Regions from separate parts of the Homo sapiens genome. Here regions 1, 2, 3, 5, 6 and 7 are each linked to region 4. Evidence: promoter capture Hi-C in 16 types of primary human blood cells and fetal thymus (Javierre and others, 2016). All regions are on one chromosome and are shown on one strand. The core of a region is centred on a gene start or on the middle of the fragment in contact, and the rest is flanking DNA. Distances in the headings are between cores, read along the strand shown.

Region 1 (3,707 bases), core at 541-3,040, 1.8 Mb after region 4:
GGTCTACTTGAGGGTGGAAGGTGAGAGGAGGGAGAGGATCAGAAAAGATAATTATTGGGTACTGGGCTTAATACATAGGTGATGAAATAATCTGTACAACAGACCCCCGTGACACGAGGTTACCTATGTAACAAACCTTTACATGTATCCCCCAACCTAAAATAAAAGCATTTAAAAAAAAAAAAAAAAGGAGCCCGTAAATCCAATTCATTCCTCAGCCAACACATAATGACAGCCCTGAAAGGAGAGATTAAAAAGCTACTCTCAGTTGTTAACTACATTGCTGACCTCATGTTTTCCTTCTTGTTTCCTTGAGAGATCACCAGTCAGTGTCTCATGATACCAGCAGTTACCATTTACTGTGTGCCTAGTAAATGGCACCATACTGGATCCTTTCAGCATGGTACTTTATTTTATCCTCAGGAAAAGCCCCTGTCAGTGGCGCATTCTTCTAACCTCTAGAGAGAATTCAGTACCACTCTCACCTTCTTCCTCTCTTAAAAAAAAAAAAAAAAAAAAAACACCCACACACAGAAAAGAAAAGAAAAGAAAAGAAAAGAAAAGAAAAGAAAAGAAAAGAAAAGAAAAGAAAAGAAAGAAAAGTAGCATTTGTATGGACGTTGGGATGGAAGCTTCCCAAGTTCTGGGATGCCGCTTCAGCATCAGAATGGAGAAGTTCAAAGACTCTCAAGGCCACATACCAAGTTCTCTAGGGGTTCTTCTCTCTCCAGGATGTGCCTATCAGTGTTCAGGCAGAAGGCAGCATAACACTTTCAAAAGGATTTCACTATGGAAGGTCAAATGAAAGAACTGTATTAAAGGTGCAGGTGGGGTGAAAAGAACCATGCAGGGATGCTGAAGTATCCAAGGACTAGCAACAGCAGGAATGCTTCACCATCCCAAATCCTGAAAAGGAGGAGAGGCAGTGGTGGTTGCAAAGTGCAGTGAAGAACTGGAGACTTGGCAGAGGGACCAGCCTACAGGAACTACACCTGCAGAAGAGCTCAGCCACTGCCAGAAGTAGGGAAGAAGCCAGGACTGTGAATCCCCTGACCACCCTCTTCTACCTTTCAGTCTCCTATTTATACCCCTCACTGGTCAAAGCCCATGACTCCAGGTGCCCAGATAGTCTTGGTGATGCAGTGCACAGAGATGAACTTCTTGGGCAAAACTCAGAACAGACAGGGATAGAAGATGGATGGGAGCCAGGAGAGAGGGTAGGAGCAACGGAAATCAACCAGCACAGGGCTCCCCTCCCAGATCTCTTCCTTCTCTAGTCTCTCTAAAACTCCACACAGCTTATGCAATAAAACTGGCTTCCTGTTTTTACTGGTTCCTTGAATGCATACAGCAGAAGGAACATTTTTCCAGAGCTGTGTAATTTATGCACAAGGAACCCTTGAGTCTCAGATGTGGCCCAGCTCCACTTACAAAAAAATTGCATGGGATCTTGGAGTGAAGTCCTTGGACTGATGAACAGAGGGTTTTTGCCACAGTGTCCCTCCTAAGTCCCTCTCCTAAACTTGCAACAGCAACAAACAGCTGGTGGAGATTTAGGAGTTCAAGATTCTAACCTAGTAGCTTTCCAGCTCATCATGAGTTAAATACTCTTCTTACCCCTTTAGAGGTAACAGTACTGAGGCTCAGAGCAATTGAGCAATTTGCCCATGACAAGCCTTAATAAATGTGGGATATTCTAGCTCTGCCCATCCACCTCCAATGCCCATGCCCTGTCATGAGCACACACACATGCACTCCCCTGCCTCTCAAGGCCTCTTCTTTAAGACATGTTTTCACAGCAAGATCATTGCATTATGGAGGAAATGCAATATCCACAATTATCTTCCTTTGATCCTAGCAAACATCATTTTCCTCTGACCTTAGCTGGGAGCTAAGCCTGTCACAATCATGACTGGCTTACTCATGATCAAAATATTCAGTGCGGCCAGAACATGCAGCTCGGCAAACTCTAAGGAGTCCCAAATATAACAACCTACTTTGCTCTGCCCAAGGAACAGAGACTGGCCCCAAAGGATTGATGCTGACCCTCTGCATTTGGTTTAGTTCCACAAAAGGAACCTAGGCAATCTTTTAGCATCATCGTTGTACTATCATGCTTAGAAAAATCCAGGCAGTCTAAATTCCTCTATACACACTACACATTCTTGTCAAGATTAATCCTAACAGAAGCCAGGAGCAAGTAGGACCACACATTCCACAGGCCTTGTGTGTTCCCTAATGTGGTTTGTAGATCAGCCTGAGACATGCCAAATATATTGGGTAACTGAAGACTCTTTTGAAAGAAAAGAAAACATAAAATTTGCAGTGCTGTACCATGGTTTTCAAGAGACTCATTGATCCCTTTTTATTTCTGCTCTGCATCACTGTTTCCTAAATTTGGTAGGAATCTTGCACTTTGAGCCAGATCCTTCTTTTTTTAAGGGCTGTCCTGTGCATCATAGGACATTAGCAGCATCCCTGGCCTCTGCCCACTAGATGCTAGTAGCATCTCCACCCAACCACGTGAGTCATCACAAGCAACAATATCTCCCATCATTGCCAAATGTCTCCTGGGGGGTCAAAATTGAGAACCACTTGTGAACCATATCTGTACAGTCTTGTCATGGTGAGAGAGTCTACACAGCCCCCCAAATCTACTTTTTCCAACTGACCTTTATTTACAGAAATGACCCCATAGCTGCTCCTCATTTCAGGTATGATATCTCTTCCCTTGTGAGAATCCCAAGTTAAAGAGACTCCATCCTGGAAGGTGTACAGGAAGAGCAAGAAACTGTGCCCTCATCCAAATTCTCTTTTACTATAGCCAGGATTTTTTAAAATGTTTTCTAAGATACAAAAATCACCAAGTCTCCTATTTCTAAGAATTTACTCCAAGAAAATAATTAATAATGTGTGCAAAGGTTTAATTGCAGAAAGAGCCCTGCAGCAAAGCTTGCAATATGGAAAATTGAGAAATAGCCTCAACATGGGTGAAATGAGCTGTGATACACTCATCCAATGAAACAGAGTCATAAAAAATGATGAGGATGCCCCACCAGGCACAAGAGCTTGCACCTGTAGTTCCAGCTGCTGGGGAGGACTGCTTGAGCTCAGGAGTTGAGGCCAGTCTGGGCAACATAGGGAAACCCTGTCTTTAAAAAAAAGAGGATGGAAATGTATTGGCACCATAAGATATTCACAAAATATTAACTAAACAAAGTAGATGACTGAGGAATATTTTCAGTACTCATTTCATTTTTAAAGTCTGTTTGCCCATATGCATAGAAAAAGTCTAAATTAAAATATTAATGGGGAATTTTAAATCTCTACTCTTTTGACCTTTATTTTTAATTTTTACAATAAACATTGTACTCATTTTACATAAAATATTTTATGTATGCTCTTAGGCTAGTTGCATATTATTTTGTTTCCAAAAATTGCAGAGAAAATGTCTAAGGAGAGAGAAATAAAACTCTTAGGAGTTGAAGTGTAAAACACGATATCATTCTTAAAGTTTCCTGGTGGCGTACCTGGATGTCTATTCCAGAGGATTTTTTAAAGCAAGATTACCACCAAGTAATACTAGTTTATATGTTTTTAAATTGTTTCTTCCTAACTAGAACAGGGAGGGAAATTAGTCTTGAGTTTACATCATTTTATTGAGTTTTTCTTAGTCCAGAACTATGAACCCAATGGATTACAACAGT
Region 2 (3,636 bases), core at 622-3,121, 1.6 Mb after region 4:
TTTCGTGTACACATTCCATTGGCCAGAACTCATTCACATGGCCACCTAGCTGCCAGTGAGGCTGAGAAATGCAGTCTGGCTATGTGCCTGTGCCATAATAAGAAATACATATTTGGTCTTTGTCCCCAGTTCCTGGCATGTAGCTCCTAAAACCCTTGCAATGTGCAGAGTGATAAGGTGTCTTTTTGTGTGCTAATAAGATGGCTGGTGGCTGGAGGCTGGAGGCCCCTGCCTAGCCTCAGGAAAGACCAAGGCATAAGTAGAAAGCTGGAACTTTCAGTACCACCCTCAGACCCGTGAGAAGGGGAAAGGGGCTGGAGAATAAATTCAGTTGCCAATGGCCAATGATTGAATCAGTCATGCCCATAAAATGGAACTTCCGTGAAAACTGCTAAATGACGGGGCCCAGAGAGCTTCGAGGTTGGTGAACGCATAGAGGTACTGGGAGGGTGGTGCACTCAGATGTGTGCCTCCCCATACTTTGCCCCATGCACCTCTTCCATTGGCTGTTTCTGAGTTTGTAGCCTTTATCATAAGCCAGAGGCCAGGTGCGGTGGCTCACACCCGTAATCCCAGCACTTTGGGAGGCCGAGGCGGGCGGATCACGAGGTCAGGAGTTCAAGACCAGCCTTGCCAATATGGTGAAACCCCGTCTCTACTAAAAATACAAAAATTAGCTGGGCATCGTGGCGTGCACCTGTAATCCCAGCTACTCAGGAGGGTGAGGCAGGAGAATCACTTGAACCCAGGAGGTGGAGGTTGCAGTGAGCAGAGATCGTGACACTGCACTCCAGCCTGGGCGACAGAGCGAGACTCCGTCTCAAAAAAAAAAAAATCGAGAAAACATAAACGAAATGTTTCCCTGGGTTTTGTGAGCTGTTCTGCAAATTATTAAACCTGAGAAGGGGGTCATGGGAACCCCCGATGTATAGCCTATTAGAAGTATAGAGAGCTCAGGACTTGTGACTAGTGTCTGAAGTGGGAGCTGTCTTATGGGACTGAGCTCTAACTAAGAGGTGTATGCTAACTCTTGGTAGTTGGCAAAAAAATTGAATTGAAATGTAGGGGACCCAGCTGGTGTCTGGAGAATTGGAGAATTGGTAGATATAAGGGGAAAAAATACATCTTTGGAATGAAAGTGTTGTGATAAAAATAGCTCAGTGACCAAAAGATGAAAGGAAATTGAAATTGATGGACACATGGCATATTTTTACTACTAAATGTATTGAACAACTACTGCCACAGGAGGGGTCTGTGACATTTTCTTAGAACAAGTTAATTTTGGGTTTTTTGTTCCTGAGAATGTGTTGATATTCTAAACAGTTTATTACTCAGAAAACCATTGTTCTTTCACGTAGGGGTTAAGAAAATGTAAGTTAGTGATCAAGCAAAGATCAGGAATTAGGTGAGATGGAAAGAGGGAGACCCATTTTGCTCATTACTTGAAGATCTTGTTAAAGTTTGCTTTATAGATGGCATCTAAAAGGGTGTGTTTGGGGATATAGTTTCCTGACGCACGTAGAAACGGTGTTTGGATTCAAACTCCACGAATGGCACTACCAAGCCAGTTCTGGAGAAGGCAGAGCTGCCACTGGCTCCAAGCAGAAAATATGGGGCCAGGAACAGAACATTTAGTCAAAAGGGCTTAGGAGCCAGGAAAATTCAGAATCAAAATAGTCTTAAAGGCAGTGACCAGGAGAAGCCAGGGAATTCTGCCATGAACATTAATTTCCTCTATTCTCTGAATGTTCATTTCATTGAGCACCTTCAGCATGCCAGTTTCCATGTTGGAGAGTACAATGATGAGGGAAACTCCATCCCTGCCTGCAAGTTGGAAATGCTTGTGGGTGGACACTGGCCACGTGGTGTGTGGGTAGGCTTGACTGACCTAAGAGTCTACGGTTAAAGGGTGAAGCAGAGTTCTGACAAATGTCAGCTTTAGCAGCCACTAAGATGCCTCCACCCACTCAAGGCAAAATACACTCCTGATACTCTTGTCTTCCTTTGTAAGAATTCCCAAGTCACACCATACCCAGTTCACATCATGGAAACACTGAACTGGGGAATTTTAGAATTGAAAGAGGTTGTGCAAATTACTTAGTCCAGCCTTTTTGTTTTTCATCAGGGGAGAAGGAAAAACTGACCTGTATTGTATGTAGATGAGCCCCAAAGACTCACTTGGACACCAAGATCAGGCAGGCTGTCAGAACAGGACAACTACCATTTGGAGCCAATGGCAGCTCTGCCTTCTCCAGAACTGGCCTTGATAGTGCCATTCATGGAGTTTGAATCCAAACACCGCTTCTACGTGCTTCAGGAAACTATATCCCCAAACACACCCTTTTAGATGCCACCTAAAAAGCAAACTTTAACAAGATCTATGCAGCATGGTAATGGCTAAAACTATTTCATTCAGCAAGCATCTATTGCAATCTCAATACAAGAGCCATTCACCTTCCTTGACAATTGCCTTCACATTTCTCTGATGTCTTCTCCTTCAAACATGCCACTAGCCTGTTTCACTGATTTCTACCCAGTGATCTCAGTTCTCCACCCTGGAGCTCTTATGAAATTCATCTGATCCTTCTTCCATTTTAATACATGTAACGAAAACTTATTAAACATCTATTGCATCTGTTAGAGACTCAGCAAGACAAAGAAAGCATATTAGGATGAAGTCCCTGAGAAACATTTAATAAATGATACACATATTTCCAAAGGTTTGGGTGAGGTTAAAATAAAACAATGATTTGGTGCATTAACTACGGCTAGCCACGGAGGGGAGCCATTACCACCTCTACCACTCCAAAGGGGCAGGAAGAAGGAGAAGTTAACTCTAGGAGACAGCCCAGACAGAATCTGTGGCTTGGGATAGAAGGATTCCACCTTACACACTGCAGCCTGCTAACCTGCATGGGACGGAGCAAAAGGATGAAAACAGACCTCCCTCTTCTGCCCTTTCATCTCCCACCTGCACCTCTTGTTGGCAGAACCTAACCAGAAGCCAGAGGTCATAGGAATCTATGGATGCAGTCAATGCAGGTCAGCTTCCCACGTCCAGGGCAGGACGAAGACTGGAGTGTTTGGGTTGGGGGACAAATGGAGAACACCCAGCCCTCACACATGCCAGGCACTTAACAGAGGAGTTAAGAAAACAGACTTGGTCCTTGATTGCATAGACTGTAAAGGGCATTGGTTGAGAGAGGAAATAGACAAGTACACTTACTAAAAAACTCTGCTAAATGTATGAAGGAAAGACTGGACTCTATGAGAGGTAATAATAGGGGATCAATTTTAGACTGGACGTTCAAAGGTCTTTCCGTGGATGCAGCATTTATGCTGAGATCTGTCGGACGAGAAGGAGCCAGCCAGGTGAACCAGGGGAAGAGGAGCATCCCAGACAGAAGAAGAGTGTGGTCAAAGACCCTTGGGACAGGGCAGCTCTTCAGATATTTGATTGTTTGAACTTGATTTGAATTTGTCTGAAATATACATCGGTTATTTCCTATGGGTTGCCCCCGAAAGGGCCCAGATTGAATGGCAAGGGCAGAGTCAGGAGGCCTGATCCACCAGCCCTGCTCTGGCCCTCATTGGCGAGAGGCGTTGCCCAAGTCCCTGGGTCTCTCCTGTCATGCT
Region 3 (3,546 bases), core at 227-2,726, 1.6 Mb after region 4:
CAACAAAATGGTGCAGTAGGAGATTCCAGCCCTCATCCCACCATTCTTTGAGCTGAATGTTTGTGTCCTGCCCACCTCCCCCAATACCAAATTCATACATTGAAATCCTGTCCCCCAAGGTGATAGTATTAGAAAGTGGAGCGTTTAGGAAGAGATTAGATCATGAGGGCGGAGCCTCAATATTTGTATTAGAGCCCTTATAAAAGAGATTCCAGATGGATAATTCATCTCATTTACCATGTGATGACACAAGAAGAAGTAGGCAGTCTGCCATCCAGAAGGCAACTCTCACCAGGAGCTGGGCCATGCCGAGACCCTGATATCAGACTTCTAGTCTCAAAAACTGTGAGAATTAAATTTCTGTTGTTTACAAGCCACCCAGCTTATGGTATAGGCATACCTGTTTTACTGCCCTTTGCTTTATTGAGCTTGGCAGATATTACCTTTTCCACAAATTAAAGGTTTGTGACAATCCTGCATCGAACAAGTTTATCTGTCATTTTTCCAACAGCACATTCTCACTTCATGTCACTATGTCGTATATTGGTAATTCTCACAATATTTCAAACTTTTTCATTATTATTATATTTGTATGGTGATATGTGATTAGTGATCTTTGATGTTAGCATTGCAATTGATTGGGAGCAGCACAAATCATACTCATATACGATTGCAAACTTAATCGATAAATGTTGTGTGTGCACGGGCTGCTCCACTGACCAGTAGTTCCCCCATTTATGTTTCTGCTCTTGAGTGTCTCTATTCCCTGAGACACAATGATACTGAAATTAGGCCAATTAATAACCCAGCATGGCCTCAAGTGTCCAAGTGAAAGGAAGAGTCACATGTCGAAACAATTAGCTTAGTGAATAAGGCATGTCAAAAGCCAGGATAAGCCAAAAGCCCATGCCAAACAGCCTCAAGTTGTAAACACAAAGGAAAAGTTCTTGACGGAAATTCAAAGTGCACTCCAGTGAACACAAATGATAAGAAAGCGAGACAGCCTTATTGTTGATATGGAGAAAGTTTTGGTGATCTTAATAGAAGATCAAACCAGCCAAAACATTCCCTTAAGCCAAAGGCTAATCCAGAGCAAAGTCCTAACTCTCTTCAATTCTCTGAAGACTGAAGGAACTGTAGAAAAACATTGTAAGCTAGCAGAGGTTGGTTCATGAGGTTTAAGGAAAGAAGTTATTTTCATAACAAAATTGCAATATTAAACAGCAATTGCTGAAGGAGAAATTGCAGCAAGTTATCCAGAAGATCTAGCTGAGAATATTTACAAAGGTGGCTACACTAAACAACAGATATTTAATATTAATAAAACAGCCTTATATTAGAAGAAGATGCTATCTAAGACTTTGATAGCTAGACAGGAGAAGTCATGCCTGATTTCAAAGCTTTAATTAAAGGACAATCTGACTCTCTTATTAGAGGCTAATGCAGCTAGTGACTTTAAGTTGAAGCCAATGCTCATTTACCATTCTGAAAGTCCTAGGGCCAGTAAGAATTATGCCAAATCTACTCTCCATGTGCTCTATAAATAAAACAACAAAGCTTGGATTTCAGCATATCTGTTTATATCACAGTTTACTGAATATGTTAGAACCACTGTTGAGACCTACTGCTTAGAAAAAGAAAAGATATTCTTTTCAAAATATTACTGCATATTAGCAACGTACCTGATCACCCAAGAGCTCTGATGGAAATGTACAAGAAGATTAATGTTGTTTTTATACCTGCTCACTCAGAATCCTTTCTGCTGCCCATGGATCAAGGAGCAATTTTTACTCTCAAATATTATTTAAAAAGTACATTTATAAGGGTATGGCTACCATAGATGGTGATTCCTCTGATGAATCTGGGCAAAGTAAACTGAAAACTTGGAAAGGATTCACCATGCTAGCTGCCATTAAATTCATTTTATGGGAGGATGTCTAAATATCAGCATTAGCAGAAGTTTGGAAGAAGTTTATTTCAGCTCTCATGGATGACTTTGAGGGGTTTAGGACTTCAACAGAAGAAGCATATGCAGATGTGGCAGAAATAACAGGAGAACTAGAATTTAAAATGAAGCCTCAAGACGTGACTGAATTGCGCAGTCTCATAATAAAACTTGAAAGGGTATGAAGTTGCACTTATAGTCTATGGTCATACCACCCTGAACGTGCCCAGTCTCATCCATGTTGCATTTATGAATGAACAAAGAAAGTGCTTCTTGAAATGGAATCTACTTTTGGTGAAGATGCTGTGAACATTGTTTAAATGACAACAAAAAATGTAAAATATACATATGTTTAGTTGATAAAGCAGCAACAGAGTTTGAGAGGGTTGATTCCAATTTTGGAAAAAGTTCTACTGTGGGTAAAATGCCATCAAACAGCATTGCATGCTACAGGGAAATCTTTTCTGGAAATAAGTCAATTAATGTGACAAACTTTATTGTTGTCTTATTTTAAGAAATTTCCAGTGTCAACCCAACCTCCAGCAATCACCACCTTGATGAGTCAGCAGCCATCAACACAGAGGCAAGGCCCTCTACCAGCAAAAAGATTATGACTCACTGAAGGCACAGATGACTGTTAGCAATTTTTAGCAACACAGTATTTTTTGTTTGTTTTGAGTTTTTTTATTTTATATTTTTTATTTTTGAAACAGGGTCTCTATCACCCAAGCTGGAATGCAGTGGCATAATCATGGCTCACTGCAGCCTCAATCTCCCAGACTCAGGTGATCCTCCCACCTCAGTCTCCTGAACAGCTGGGACTACAGGCATGTGCCACCACACCTGGCTAATTTTTTGTAATTTTCTTTTTCTTTGTAGAGATGGTGTTTTGCTGTGTTTTTCAGCCTGGAATCAAACTCCTAGGCTCAAGCAGTCTTCCCACCTCAGCCTTCCAAAGTGCTGGGATTACAGGCATAAGCCACAGTACTTTATTGTGCCCAGTCAGTAAGGTATCTTTTAATGAGGGTACGTATATTGTTATTTAGACATAATGCTATTTTGCACTTAATTTACTGCAGTATAGTATAAACATAACTTTTATATGCACCGAAAGACCATAACCATTGTGTGACTCACTTTCTTGCAATATTCACTTTAATGCAGTGCTCTGGAATACAACCTGCAATATCTCTGAGGTATGTCTGTATTTTGTTATAGCAGCCCAAACAAACAGATACTCCACATAAACAATAACAACATTCATGGATAAAAATAGCTCTGGGAGAATTGTAAAGTAAAATTAAGAAGCTAGAGCAACACAGTCAAGCACTAAAACTGAGATGGCCACATATAAAAGTGTAGGAAGTATCTTACCTGTGTCACCTTGTCCCCTAGCTGGCACAACTCAGTAACAAAAGGAATCCCCTTGGATGTGGCTTTTCCTTATAGAGGAAAATAAAAATAGAAAACCCCTATCAGCTCTCTCTGCCAAAGACTCCCACAGTCTTCAACAACACAGATCCCAGCTGATGGAATGGCCCAGAAATCATGTTTCTATACTAACCTGGATGCAGAGCAGCTATACATGCCCCTGGCTTCTG
Region 4 (3,290 bases), core at 437-2,936:
CAACTAAACATACTATGAGAAAACCCTCGACCGGGCGCGGTGGCTCATGCCTACTGGGCGAATCACGAGGTCAGGAGATCGAGACCATCCTGGCCAACACGGTGAAACCTTGTGTCTACTAAAAATACAAAAATTAGCAGGGCGTGGTGGCACGCGCTTGTAATCCCAGCTACTTGGGAGGCTGAGACAGGAGAGTCGCTTGAACCCGGGAGGCGGAGGTTGCAGTGAGCCGAGATCACGCCATTGCATTCCAGCCTGGCGACAGGGCGAGACTCTGTCTCAAAAAAAAAAAAAAAAAAAAAAAAGGAAACCCTCATTTCATCAAAACTCCAATCCAATGGACCCAACCAGATTTAACAAGCAGACAAAAACAACCCCTACAAACCAGTTAATTTTCCAACATGCTTTCTGCTTCCAGAATTCTAGACTGTACTGTGGTTTTCCATCCATCTCACTGACTGCTCTTTCCTGGTGTCTTTGGCTAATTCTTTGCCAATCCAGCTAAGTTTACTTGTTCCTGCTAATGTCCCTTTCACTCTGACATTTGGTACAAAATCCCTTCCCCTTTCCAGCCTCTCTTTCTGGACAGGGAACCTTGTTGCTGTCCTTTCCCTTCTCTACATTACTCTCCTGAATCTGCTCTCTTTCCTGTCCTTTCTCCACTTCAGTATCTGCTGTCACCTCTCCTGCATCTTTTCTCCACTGAATGACTCGGTTCTCTCTACCCCACCTTCCTGTCCCTTCTTACCTTAGAATGGTGACATGGCCTAAGTTACCTAAATCAGGCAATCACTGCTAGAAACAATACTAAAGTCCTGTCTCAGGTTTGCCTCCTTATCTTTGCGCTCCCACCCCCACGATGTCCAGCAAAGCATATTACACATAACTTGATTCAATTACCATTTAGTCATTTCTCCAAAGGATAAAGGCCCTTACCGCCCAGAAACCTTCAAGAAAGAAGGCAAACATAACTTCGATACAAAGTAAAATCATCAGATATGAGAATGAATACAAAACTGGCTACTGTTAGCGCCACTGTTTCCAAACCAGTTCCTGTAAGAACAATGCCTTAGTCTTGCTCATCAGACCGGGGTAATCACTGTGCCGAAACCATGACTGGCACGTAGTAGGTACTTAAACACTAGTCGGTAAAACGAACCAAAGGACACGCTAAGGAATGAACACTCTGTGCTTTGCACAGTCCGTGGCACACAGCTGCAGCTCCAAGAGGAAGCCACTGCAAAAGAAGCGCGCCCTTGGGTCCTCCCCTTCCCTCGCAGACCCCCAAACCCGGCGCGCTCCTAACCTTGGTGTCCACGTCGGCCAGGCAGTCTCTGCGGAACTGGTCGAAGAGCCCCTGGCTCTTGAGGTGGTTCACGATCATGGCCACGAGCTGCGGGTCCCCGGCGCCCGCACCCGCGCCGCCCGCCCCGCCCGCGCCGGGGCCAGCCCCGGGGCCCGGCGGCGGCGGCGGTGGCTGCGGCTGCGGCTGCGGCGGGGGAGGCGGCGGCGCCGGAGGAGGCGGCTGCGGCTGTGGGTTGGTGGCCATGGTGGCCTGTGCCGGGGAGGGCAAGGGCCCTGACCGGCGGACGATCCTGGGAGGCGGCGGCTGCACTGGTCCCGCCGCCTGAGGGAAGCCAACGGGATGTTGTTACGGAACCAGCGGATCCAGAGCAACCCCGGAAGTGAAAGGGAACTGGGGGAAAGGAGGAAAAGACGGTGACAACATTGACGAAAGTCCGGCGACGGAGGCCGCGAAGAGCCAGTTTCGACCGTCGCCGGGCGCAAGCGCCCTCGCGAGGCCGAGCTGCGCCGGAAGTGGCGGCGACTGTGGCGACGGAGACGACAAGACTGTGCTGGTCGCGGGTTGTGGGGTTTAGGTCACCGGCAGGGGTCTGGAGTCCCTGGAGGTTAGGGCTTCGACCCGCGCGACACCTGGGGCCCTAGGTCTGAGCGGGGGCAGTGCGTTTCTGGCCCCGCTTCATCCGCGACGGCATTTTAGGCCTGCCTCTCTTGCTCCAGTTTCCCGGAGCAGTGCATAGAGATCCATAGACATTTGTAATGCGAACCCTACGTGGATCTGCTCATTCTAACTTCGCCCAACCCTCTTCGTTCTTAGCCTGTGATCCTGCACTATTCTTGTCCCAGCAGGTAGCTCCAAGTTCCTTCTGTCTCTCTTCTGCCTGCACATACCATTTCCCCGTGGGGGTCCCTTGTTTCTGGCAGTGTGCCTGTGGATTAGATCCGATCCCTCCAGCCCGTTCTTCCTATCTGTGAAGACAAATCGACAGGCTTTTATTTTTAGGAGATTTGCTATTGATTACTATGATTATAGCAGGTAAAACATCTATAGCACATATTATGTACCAAGCGTGGCGTTAAGTGCTTTTACATGTATTAACGCATTTAATCTTTGGACAAACACTAAGAGCTAGGTCTGATTACTGTCCCCAGTTTGCAAATCAGGGAACCAAGGCTCAGATAAATTAAGTATGTTGAGTAAGATTACACAGCTAGCAAATCACCTGCTTTTGGACTGCATCATCTTTGAAATTATTATTAGTACGTGGTCAAAGCAACATAAATATTAGAAAATTTCATAATTACTAAATAGTGTGTGTAACTTTATTGAAAAATGCATATTGTTGCTTTTTAAAGTTCCTACATCTGTGGCTGAATATATCTTATTAGTAGGAAAAGAAGGGTTGAGCATCAATTCTATTCCTATTTGTAATTTTTATAGCTGTGTGCCCTGAGAAACCTTGTTCATATAAACAAGTACTGTGCCTAGGAATGGAAGAGTTTTGTTGTAGCAATATCATTCAATTCTTGACCTCAAAAAATTAGATTTGATTATCTATGAGCTGACTTCAATTAGGCCCTCCTTCTATTTTATGGAAAGCAAAGAGCTGAAAACCACCTGGCTTGCCAAAGGATTTGTTTACTTAATCCTTATTTTTTCACTCTTTCAGATTCTGGGAAATATACCAGATAGGTTTTACCAAGATACCAAATGACTATGAATTAGACCTGATTTTTTCAATGAGGTGTACCTTTCACCTGATATACTGAAAGTTTGGAGAATATCTAAACATTTTTCATTTTCATAAATAGTTTTGGATAAGATTTATTTTTGTTATCAGGTGGTTAAATTATGTTTTTGTCAAAATTTGCAACTGCAGATTTAGCTCATTCAAGTTCAAAATCTTTGTCACTGGGCACAGTGTCTCACGCCTGTAATCCTAGCACTTTGGGAGGCTGAGGCGGGAGGATCGGTTGAGTCCAGAGTT
Region 5 (3,291 bases), core at 287-2,786, 1.8 Mb after region 4:
TTAATTAGGTATGGTAAGACACACAGACACAAACATGATTGGCACAAAAGAAGAAGTTTATACTTAACAGATCCCTAGAAACAAGAAGCATGGTGTCTTGGTTCGTTTTCTGTTGTTGTAACAGAATACACAGACTGGGCAATTTATAATGAACAGAAATTTATTTTTCACAGTTCTGGTGGCTGGGAAGTCCAAGATCAAGGGGCTGGCATCCTGCAAGGGTCTTCTTGCTGCACCATCCTATGGTGCAAGGCAAGAAAACATGAGAGCAAGAAAGAGAAAGAGAGAAAACGAGGCCAAATTCATTCTTTTATAAGGAATCCACTCCTGCAATAATGGCATTAATGCATTTATGAGGGCAGAGCCCTACAGCCTAATTGCCTCTCATTAGGTGCCACCTCCCGACACCATTGTGTTAGGGATTAAGTTTCCAATACATGCTTTTGGGAAGACACATTCAAATCATAGAACATGGCATGCCACACAGGACCACATAGGGAAGAACCAATGTTGGTCAGAAGGCAGAACGGAGACAGCAGAGTACAGCACAGAGCCTTTACTAGGGTTTTCCCAGGAAGGAATAGGTGAAGCAGGGTAGGGTGCTGCATAAATTTAGGAGTGGATAGCTTGAATAATCGTGGTGTTCTCTGGGCTATAGTGGTCTGGTATCTGGACCTGGGGTGACTTAGGACAGGAGGAATATTGGCTTAGTGTGTGAGAGTTTGATAATGGAGATGGTTGTGTGGGCTCTGGATTGGTTGGCTTGTATATCAAAGGAGACTTTGCATATTTCAGGGGAATCATTTGCTATCTCTAGAAATTAGCTAACATAGGAGAATCAGTTTCTCCAGGATCAAGGCTCCAAATGCCAGAGCATCAAGAATACAGAAAATAAGAAGATACAGTCAATACACATACACACAAACATACACACACCATACACACAGACACAAATACACACAAACACATGTGCACATACACACTAGTCTATTGGAGTGTGTTTCCTTGGCTCCATTCATTCTATTACTCTTCCAGCTACTTTGCCTCCTACCTCTCCCTCTTTTTTTTTTTCCAACTTTTTTGAGCCATAACATTTATATCCGTTTTCAGGAATTGCAGTGGGATTCAGAGAATAGGCAAAGATTAAACTTGTGCGTTCAACCTTCCACTTTTAACTGGAAAACACTCAAGTGCAACATTTGTTGGTACTCTGCAGCACCTCCACAGAGCTTTTGCTGCTGCCACGTTAGACAGCTTCACCATGTAATGACGACCTTTTAAGATTCTAAATCCCCCCACCTCTGAGCCTGTTCTTCATTGGAAATGCAAGACGACCGGATGACATGAGGGAGGGGCAGCTCTTAAGGCTTGACCTAATTTCCAGTGCTGCTCATGTTGATTTCTCTCCGTCCTTCTACTGCAGGCTGTGCGTCTCTGCTTACCCAGCATGCTTGTACTCCACTACTGGAAGTAGCCTGTCACTTTAAAGGAAAAAAAAAAAAGCTACCGAGTGACCTTCCTTAGGAACGGGTTGCTAAGCTGGTGTTTTTGCTCCAAGACATGGCTGCAGCTTCCCAGGGAGGAGCCCAGGGGCATCTCCAACACTCAGCCTTTCCCTCCGGACCCTTTTAAAAGATTCAACAGCACCGTCTCTCTCCACTTCCATCCTAGAATGCAGAATCTGCAAAGTGCCTTTTGTAAAGTTTCTTAAGGTAAATCAGTCCCTAACCGGACTTTAGGCTGCAACAGTGATTTCCTGTTTTCAGTTACCCGGCTTGAAGTTCAGCCTCTCCAGGATACCGTGAGACTGGATTTAATGAATTGTAAATTTAGGGGCTCTCATCGTTATTTATGTTTTTACTTTCTGAAATGGGAACATAGACCATTACTTGGCAGCTTTGATTTGAGCTGCTATCTGGTATCTGGTTTGCAGGAAATGTAAGTCCAGTTCATCACAAGTCCTGAGTGAAAATGCTCTCTGACCAAAGCTCTGTGAAACATTAGCTGCGTGTTGCATTTATGGGCCTTTTAGTTCAAACTGGCTTAAGGGGAGAAGCACTAATTACTGCAAAATACACTTTTCTTGGTATGAGACAGAGAAAGGGCTACTAACCACAGTGCTAAGAGTTGCTGTGCTTTCCAAAGACTTCAAGAAAATGTACTGGCTACAACTTAAGCTGATTGTTTGTTTCCCTTCATTGCAAAGAGGTGGTATGAAAAGCTAATAAAGTCAAATAAGAAATATGTTTGCTACTGCATTTTCATATAACCTTTTCTGCAAATAAATTCAGCACCAGCATGAAATCTCTCTCTCTCTCTCTCTCTCTCTCTCTCTCTCTCTCTCTATATATATATATATATATATATATATATATATATATATATATATCCTAGAGCTCACTTATAGAGTCATTCATTCAAACATTTATGGAGCATCAACAATGCACCAGGCAATGAATTTAAGTTTAGAGTGTGCAAACATAAATTAGACTAGGTCAGAAGCTCAGAATTTGCTGGGAAAACAGACCTATAAACACATGATAAGAGTACAATGAGCTAAGTGCCATAAGAGATTTATAAAAACACTGAGAGGACAGTGGGATGACATCCAGGGAGGGGCTTCCAGTACTTAGCACATCATGTAAATGCACTGGTCATATATCACGTAACACAGCTCAAATATGGTACTCATGTGTACTCTTCAAGGCCAGTGTACATTATATCGAGCTGATTAAATGATTCTATAAAGCTATTGGTCACTAACCTTATGCTAAGGGAAACTGCAGCTGGAATAACTTGTAGAATAAGATAATGTATTCCAAAACAATGTATGTGGCACCTCCCCAGGTGTCCAAGCTCCAGGAGGGAACAGAAAAATGTTCTCAGGGTGTGAGGAAGAAAATACTCATGGGTAGAAGTGCAGGAGGTTTCAGAAGCACCATAAATGGAAACAGCAAGGCAACTGCCCTGGGCCTGGCTGAAGGGAGGGAGACATGAAACATGAGTTATGGTAGCTGGGGGTTGAAGATTGGAGCTGAAGGTGGGTGGGCTTGAACATCACCTAAGGTCTTTCTCATGACTCCTCTTCTATCCCCCAAGCTCTTTTCCCTCCTCATTCCTTTTTTCCACTTTCCCTCCCCACAATCACTTTTTCTTAGTAACAAAACCTACCAATATTGAGAGCCCAGCCTGTGCTAGGCATTTTACTACACACATTTCATCATTTAGCCCTTATAAATTAATCATCCTTCAAGGTAGGAAGTATGATTGCAATGTTGCAGACAAAAAAAA
Region 6 (3,658 bases), core at 1,159-3,658, 2.0 Mb after region 4:
AAACAGTTTCAATGATGTTGGTATTTTAAAGGCAGTTTTAAGGCAATTTAGAAAAAAATTAATCATCATGGATAGAATTCACTATTCATGATGTGAATAAATCACGAGGCACTAAGAGCTCCACAAATATTTGAGGCTTTCAACATAAGCCCTACTTCTTACGCCTGTGTCTAATTCATCTGTCTGTATATATACTACCAATGAGTATAGTCATAACATTTCAAAAAAACATTTCATGGCCAAGCGCAGTGACTCACACTTGTAATCTCAACACTTTGGGAGGCCAAGGCAGGCGGATCACTTGAGCCCAAGAATTTGAGACCAGCCTGGGCAACATAGCAAGACCTTGTCTCTATAAAAAAGAAAAAAAAATTAGCCAGACATAATGGCATGCACCTGTGGTCCCAGCTACCAAAGAGGCTGAGGTGGGAGGTTCACTTGAGCCCGAGAGTTGAGGATGCAGTGAGCTGTGATTGTACCACTTCAATCCAGCCTGGGCAACAGAGCAAGATCCTGCCTTTAAAAAAAATTAGTAATAATAAACTTTTGCTGCATGTATTGAATTCAGCTATCCCCAAGTCATTCAGTACTCCCTCTTCTGTGTTACATTTCAAGCATCTGTTATAGCTCTTAGGATACACATACTTTCTATTTATAGGACTATTTCCCATCTCAACTCATATACAACCCTTAAGGACAGGACTGCATGTTAATTTTGAATCCCCAGGGAGTAGCCCATTATTAGACATTAACTATGCCTGGATAATCACAACTCCATCAACAAAAATATAGTTATACAATCATCTGAATCCCCACTACATACTACATACATTTTTTAACAAGGGAAAAGTGAGTCACCAAAAAATGGAATTTATGTTTTGTGAACAGGATTGAAAAAATACTAAAAGAAAAAATCATGGACTGGAGGCCACGCCATCTGACTCGGTGGAATAGGTATTGTACCTCTACTCTGCGTCACTTCTTGCCTCTGTTAGAAAAAAGTCAAGGAGAAGATGTAGAAGATGACCACAGAGCAGAACTGCTAAAACAGCTGGGAGACTACAGGGTAAGTTACAAATGGATCCTAAACTGACTGTGGATTTCCTTGTTTCAAATTGGAAATTAGCCAATAATAGGTTTCTGGAATCAAAAGACCCACGTTGCTCCCAGAAGTACATATTTAAAGCAGCATAAACTAAAAACTGTGATCATAAGTTTTAAACCTCAATAATCATGAAATAGCAAAATACCACCATTTTTCATATAAGTATCCCATGAAAAATACCTTTTATGAAATACATTTACGTATCAAAAAAATGAAAACATCTGGCTAAATCATGTTAGACACAACTGTGCATAAGGATCAAAACACTCTAGAGCAGTTTTTTTAAGGATATGGTTTTATACTGATTGCTTTTCATTGCTAAGAAAGGTGGTTATTAATAGACGATATACCCTCTTTACTGCCTGCTGCTATGTTCACATGCTATAGCTGGATAATAAAACCTACAAAGCAGGCTCGTAACTAAAACTTAACAGTAAGCCTTACTAGCTAAACAGTGTGAAGGTCAAATTAGATCACTCACTGAGTAAAATTTATCCTTTAACTTATAAGGCAGGTTCTCAGCCAGGATATTTTCAGTTCAAGTGTCAGAAAACTCAAAAAGGCTTGAGCAATAGAGAATCTACTGGCTTAAGTAAAGCTTAGAGGGTAGCTATCAGGGCTGTCCCACTCTTTTGCAAGTCCTCCCATTCTGCCCTCCTCTTCCGTATGATGGCATCATCCTGAGACTGGGTTTCCTCATGGAAGCAAATGCTGGAACACTTACAGAATTCACATCTGCGCACATACTACCCAAAGCAGGAGAACATCACGTGCCATTATTCCTAACAAGTTTCCCAAGATTCCCTCTGAGACTCCCTTTGATCACTTGCCCATCCCCGTGGATCAATCATTGTAGCCAAGGGGACGAAAATTATTGTCGGGCGCTATGGCTCACACCTGTAACCCCAGCACTTTGGGAGGCTGAGGCAGCGGATCGCTTGAGCCCTGGAGTTCAAGATCAGCCTTGGCAGCATGGCAAAACTCCATCTCTACAAAAAATACAAAAAGTAGCCAGGATGGTGGCACTTGCCTGCAGTCCCAGCTACTCAGGAGGCTAAAGTGGGGGGACCATTTGAGCCCAGCAGGAGGCCGAGGCTGCAGTGGTGAGCCATGATCATGCCACTGCAGTCTAGCATGGACAACAGTCAGACCTGTCTCAAAAAAAAAAAAAAAAAAGAAAAAAGAAATGTATTTGTTAGTTTAACCTATGTATCTGGAATTACAATGGTTACGATGCATACTAGGTACTTTCAAAAAGAGGGAACAGTGATGGAGTGACTAACAGGTGGCTTATACACCTATATGCAAGGAAAACAAAATGGATATTAAGCAGCTCTCGATTTTCTGTATTGCTAATAAAAAGCTGAGTAGAAAAACACAAGCAAATAACTGAGATCCAGAACACTTATCTTAATTGCATACATTTACGTAGGAAAAAATGTATTAAATCTTCAAACTTCACTAATGACTACAAATGTTTTTTCCCTTCAGTTCTCTGGATTTCCTCTTCACATGCCTTATTCTGAAGTGAAGCCTTTAATTGACGCTGTGTATAGTACTGGAGTACATAATATTGATGTTCCTAATGTTGAATTTGCTTTAGCTGTATACATACACCCATACCCCAAAAATGTTTTGTCTGTTTGGATCTATGTTGCCTCTCTTATACGCAACAGGTAATTTTTTTCACTGTACTTTCTGTATCATGTAAAAACTACACTTAGGATATGAGAAAATTTTAAATTATATGCATCACATCAGAAGAACATATTATTGGCAAATAATAAAATTATCAACTGTTTTCAAACTGTGCAAAGTGTTCTATTTAGCAGTCTGCCTTGTGTCTGCTACTTGACCCTGAAATTCAATTGAGACTACCCACAGTACGATATATTATGAGCTTCCTGCCTCTATTCCTTTGTACTTACTTACCTTTTGCTTGGGCAAATATTAACAGCAATGGAATGAAAGTGAGAGAAACTTAACAAGTTTTACCTTAGAGCAAGGTAAAGCTTTAAAGAGAGCATCATTAGAGCCTTTAGAGTTCCTCCTCCTTTGCTGTGTTTAATTCAAATATTAGTTGAAATAAAAAGCAGTAGTGAGTTATATTCCATCAAATGATTCTTCATCTTTAGAAAACACTAAGACAATTTGCCTGAACTGAATGTTTACCAGTTTTTATTGCTACTCCTCCTCCTCTCTCCAAATAAACAAAACAAATAAATATCCAAGACTGCAAGATTACTTCATCTTCCACAGGTTTGCATGTACAGGCATACCTCGGAGATAGTGTGCACTTGGTTCCAGACCATTGCAATAAAGTGAATACTGCAATAAAATGAGTCACACCAATTTTTTTGGTTTCCCAGTGCAAAGTTATGTTTACACTGTATTATAGTGTATTAAGCGTGCAAAAGCATTATCTCAAAAATGTACATACCTTTAATTTAAAAATACTTTATTGTTCAAAAGTGCTAATGATCATCTGAGCCTGCAGTAAGTTGTAATTTTTTGCTGATGGAGGGTCTTGCCTCGATGTTGCTGGCTGATTAG
Region 7 (3,641 bases), core at 983-3,482, 1.8 Mb after region 4:
TTGACTATCACCTCCTTACCTATGTCTTATATAACTATAAGTCCAACTTTCCCACAGCATGCTGGGTATATAGGTATTAAGTAAGTGAATGAATGAACTGAGATGCCACTTGCAAAATTTGGAAGGTGCTTTCAAGTAGTATATACTGAGTGCCCACTTGAAGCCAGGCATTGCTCCAGGGCCTTTCCCATATATGAAATCATCTGTTCTTCCCAATATTCCTGTGGGATTAAAAAGACTACTGCCATTATCACATTTTTATGGGTCAGAAAACAAGTTCAGAAAGTCTATCCAATTTTTCTGAGGCCATGACATTAGTGAATGCCAGGACAGAGATTTAAGCCTGGCTTCTCTGGTTCTGGGGAAGATACATCAATGTGATTGTAACACACAAGCTAGATTTTAGGGAAATGACACTGCAACTAAGATATCGTCCATTGTTGCTAGGCCCCACAGGAATTCAGAGATGCAAGGTTTTATTCTTCAAAAATGTCTTGGATTGTACACACATATTTTAATTGTTGAGAGAATAAACAACTTGACTGAAAAAAGAAAAAAGAAAACATTTACAGTCTGTATATTGCAAAAAGATCTAAAGGCAGCAGCTCCCACGGCTCTTTGAGGGATATAGATGATCAGTGTAATCTGTCATAAATCAGCCAAGTATGTTCAGTGGCAGTAAATAATGCTGTCAACAGCATTAAATTTGATGCACAAGAAGACACATTTGTATGAAAGGGAGTGGAGAGAAACAGAAAAGGATTAAGTTCCATTGTTTTGTTTTCTGGTGAACACAAGAAATCTGAAACCGTCTGCAACAAGAAACCCTAACTTTGGAAATTGTACAATATTTTCCCTCCAACATTCAAGGAGACCATTGAAGCTGGTCAGTGTCCTGGCTGGATGATGAACGGTCTGCTCTGATCCATACCTTCCAGCCAGACCTCATGACCTTCTCAATTCCCAGGCTTCCTAATGTTTGTTATAGAAATTATTGGCTTTTCTTGCCCTGTATTAATCAAAGAGGCTAAGTTAGGCAGCACTAACCAACAAATCCCAAATCTCAGTGGCTTCAAACAGCAAAAAGGTTTATGTACTGATGCATAAATACAAAAGCCTTTATGTTACATGCTCACTATGGAGCAATCAGGGTCTTTGTTCATTGTGGGCCCTCAGGACCCAGCCACCATCACCATTTCCCGATACCCCCATCACAGCATAAGGCTTCAGATTTCACCATGGAGGGGAAAGGGGACATGTAGGTAATTCATGTTTTCTGCCCACACAATTCTTCTAGCCAGGCCTAATTTTAGAGACGAGGAAGGGTGATCCTGCCAAGTGTCTTAGAGGAGGGCAGAACCGGAAATACTAGCGGGCGCACCCCAGTGCTGCATACCACACATAGAAGAAGTCAGAATAGTTCCTTTAGAGAGCTATTTCCATGTTGCACAATAGCGAGGGGGAAGGGAGTGGCAAATAAATGAGGAGGAACTGGGAAAACATATCATTTTTGTTGTGTAGGGATAGTCTCTGATGAGGAGACCATGTCTGGGGTGGAAAGGAATGAGGAGCGTGTGGGGAGGAGCGACCTTGCAGCCACAACAAAATCTGCATCTTTAAGTGCTTCAACCTGAGCCACACTGGCCTCCCGGACACCAAAACCTGAGGGGGATGTTTCATCAAGGCCAGCTGAGTAGGAAGAACAGAAACCACAAACCTACTGGGGCCTGGTTAACTGAATGCTGCAAGCCCCCTCTGCACTGTTGTTGGCCAAATAGCTGGAGGCATCTCATCACATTTGAATGACACCAGTACCAAAGCCAGGCAAAGGTCCCAGCATGGGTATTGCAAGAGGGGGGAAACAAGTAGAAAAATCAAAAACAGAAGGCAGATACAAAATTACATACATCATAAATGATCCACCACCAGAGAACACAGAGATCAGTTCTCTTCAGTCTTAAATGAATCAACATCGTAGTTTCTCAGAAAAGAAAGTTTAAAAACGAAATAGAAATGATCAGAAAAGAAATAAGATGAAGACCAGTTAAAAAGTAGCAGAGCTCAGGAAATCAATGAAATAAAACAATTATAGACATGAAAGTCAACTTCAAAGTCAACAGAAAACAGATAAATGCTATTGAAAGCACAGGAAAGCTTCAGATACCACACGAAATGAGAAAGAAAGAAACAGTGTGATAAAAATGATTACAGACAAGACAACACAAACTGAAGCAAAAGGGAGGCTGACATACCCAAATTGGTATTTTGAACAGAAAAAAAGGAACAGGAAAAAACTTAAAGTCAATTCAAGAAAGCTTTTTGAGTTTAAAAAAGCTTTCTCTAAATGTAAAGGGAACACCATATCCCAGGAAAAATAAGCAAGATTGGTAACATCAAGATATGGACTGTGAAAATTCAAGGAAAAATGTCTTGTATGTGTTGTTTAGAGAACAGATATCACAAGCGGAGCCTGGCAGGTTACTTTAGTCTCCACCACAATCCTCAACACCAGAAAATAGCAGAGCAACCTCTACCAAGTTCTAAGGGGACAAGGTGACCCAAGAGGTTTTTTTCTTTCACTCAGCCAAGCTATGCTATAACTATAAAAGAAACAGGCAGGCATTCCTAAACATGTAAGAATTCAAGGACTGTATTAACAAAGCCCTTCTTGAAAAGTATTTGATGATGAAATCTAGCATAGCAAGACATGAATCAAAATTAAACACCCAGCAATGGAGAATCCACCAAATAAGGACATGAGCAAGTATTAGATCTTTTACAAAACCGAATCAAGACTAAGCAACAGTGGGAATTATTTGACAGAAAAGAATATAAATGTTATAATTCCAGGCAATCCAAAAATAATAATGTAACTGAAAAAAATTGGGAGGCTAGGGGTGGAAGGGAAAAATGAAATAAATAAAACCCTCCTCTTTCATGGCAGAAGATAAATAAATATTGTATAAAGTTAAAACATACAAAGTTTTAAAAAGCAAAATGACACTAAATTCTGGAATTGTTTTTCATAGTTGTCATCTAACCTTAGAAATATCTGAAGTTCAGCAATTCCTTCAGTTGGATTCTAGTTTATTTTTATTCTGATACATTCAAGTAACCTCACATTCAATCATTTTTTATAAAAATAGCATGCGTAGTATGAACTTATTTTTGTAAAATTATATCCAGCAAGGCTTCTGGCTAAACCTGTGCCTCAGAGAATCTGGAATGATGTTCATCAAATGTTGGCAAAATGATTTCTGAGAGGTGAAAGTTTGTTTTGCTTTGCTTTTTTCTGTTTTTTTTTTTTTTAATAAAATTCCTTGAAATTTTTATGATAAGCAGATACATTTTCACAAAATCACCACAATCTCCCCCAAATAATCACTCTCTACAGATCATGTCAGCTACTTAGGTGCCTGAAAATCTGCCTGTCTCTGAGTCCCATGCTTCCCCAAAATACTATGCAAGCCCAGCAGTCGGCTCTGCTCAGAAGAATGTGCCCAGGCAGCGCAGCCCTTCCCTCTTGGAGTCAGCAATCAATTTTGCTCTGTGTTATTCATTTTGGATGTCCAATGTTGGTCTCATTCTGTCTCATCCTCTTACTCTAGTAATGCTGTATTAGTTTCCCAGGACTGCTTTAG

What was found. Contacts are between HindIII fragments. The CHiCAGO score rates a contact against its expected background, and 5 or more counts as called.
Region 1: a fragment that was not itself captured here is called in contact with the fragment with the promoter of BOD1L1 in region 4 in 3 of 17 cell types (naive B cells, total B cells and monocytes); the score reaches 6.7 in naive B cells.
Region 2: a contact is called between a fragment that was not itself captured here and the fragment with the promoter of BOD1L1 in region 4, in 1 of 17 cell types (naive CD8 T cells). The highest score is 5.8, in naive CD8 T cells.
Region 3: a fragment that was not itself captured here is called in contact with the fragment with the promoter of BOD1L1 in region 4 in 1 of 17 cell types (total B cells); the score reaches 6.7 in total B cells.
Region 5: the fragment with the promoter of CC2D2A here is called in contact with the fragment with the promoter of BOD1L1 in region 4 in 9 of 17 cell types (monocytes, M0 macrophages, total B cells and 6 more); the score reaches 13.4 in monocytes.
Region 6: a fragment that was not itself captured here is called in contact with the fragment with the promoter of BOD1L1 in region 4 in 1 of 17 cell types (naive CD8 T cells); the score reaches 5.1 in naive CD8 T cells.
Region 7: a contact is called between a fragment that was not itself captured here and the fragment with the promoter of BOD1L1 in region 4, in 5 of 17 cell types (total B cells, fetal thymus, total CD8 T cells and 2 more). The highest score is 9.9, in total B cells.

Annotation. Positions count from the first base shown.
Region 1 is chr4:15,450,014-15,453,720 of GRCh38, forward strand. No RefSeq gene overlaps it. Among named protein-coding and RNA genes, the nearest start is that of CC2D2A, 18 kb to the right of the region's middle. The HindIII fragment of the contact is 2,320 bases long and covers 631-2,950 here.
Region 2 is chr4:15,236,112-15,239,747 of GRCh38, forward strand. All of the region lies in intron 2 of C1QTNF7-AS1 (C1QTNF7 antisense RNA 1), which reads right to left. Among named protein-coding and RNA genes, the nearest start is that of C1QTNF7-AS1, 190 kb to the right of the region's middle. The HindIII fragment of the contact is 8,921 bases long and covers 1-3,636 here.
Region 3 is chr4:15,260,078-15,263,623 of GRCh38, forward strand. C1QTNF7-AS1 (C1QTNF7 antisense RNA 1) reads right to left here. Exons shown (of 6, transcript NR_125911.1): 2 at 3,320-3,387. Among named protein-coding and RNA genes, the nearest start is that of C1QTNF7-AS1, 170 kb to the right of the region's middle. The HindIII fragment of the contact is 157 bases long and covers 1,399-1,555 here.
Region 4 is chr4:13,626,039-13,629,328 of GRCh38, forward strand. It overlaps BOD1L1 (biorientation of chromosomes in cell division 1 like 1), which reads right to left and starts at 1,687. Exons shown (of 26, transcript NM_148894.3): 1 at 1,307-1,687. The coding sequence starts at 1,549. It overlaps MIR5091 (microRNA 5091), which reads left to right and starts at 1,827; the gene lies at 1,827-1,919. RefSeq lists enhancers at 1,116-1,846, 1,684-1,843, 1,847-2,577 and a silencer at 1,344-1,543. The HindIII fragment of the contact is 7,220 bases long and covers 1-3,290 here.
Region 5 is chr4:15,468,346-15,471,636 of GRCh38, forward strand. CC2D2A (coiled-coil and C2 domain containing 2A) reads left to right here and starts at 1,537. Exons shown (of 37, transcript NM_001378615.1): 1 at 1,537-1,712. The HindIII fragment of the contact is 6,808 bases long and covers 1-3,291 here.
Region 6 is chr4:15,598,641-15,602,298 of GRCh38, forward strand. It overlaps CC2D2A (coiled-coil and C2 domain containing 2A), which reads left to right. Exons shown (of 37, transcript NM_001378615.1): 36 at 889-1,066; 37 at 2,597-2,912. The coding sequence ends at 2,785. Among named protein-coding and RNA genes, the nearest start is that of FBXL5, 55 kb to the right of the region's middle. The HindIII fragment of the contact is 1,414 bases long and covers 1,702-3,115 here.
Region 7 is chr4:15,399,690-15,403,330 of GRCh38, forward strand. The region is part of intron 1 of C1QTNF7-AS1 (C1QTNF7 antisense RNA 1); the gene reads right to left. It also overlaps a transcript of C1QTNF7 not described here. Among named protein-coding and RNA genes, the nearest start is that of C1QTNF7-AS1, 26 kb to the right of the region's middle. RefSeq lists enhancers at 1,411-1,530, 1,661-1,720. The HindIII fragment of the contact is 161 bases long and covers 2,153-2,313 here.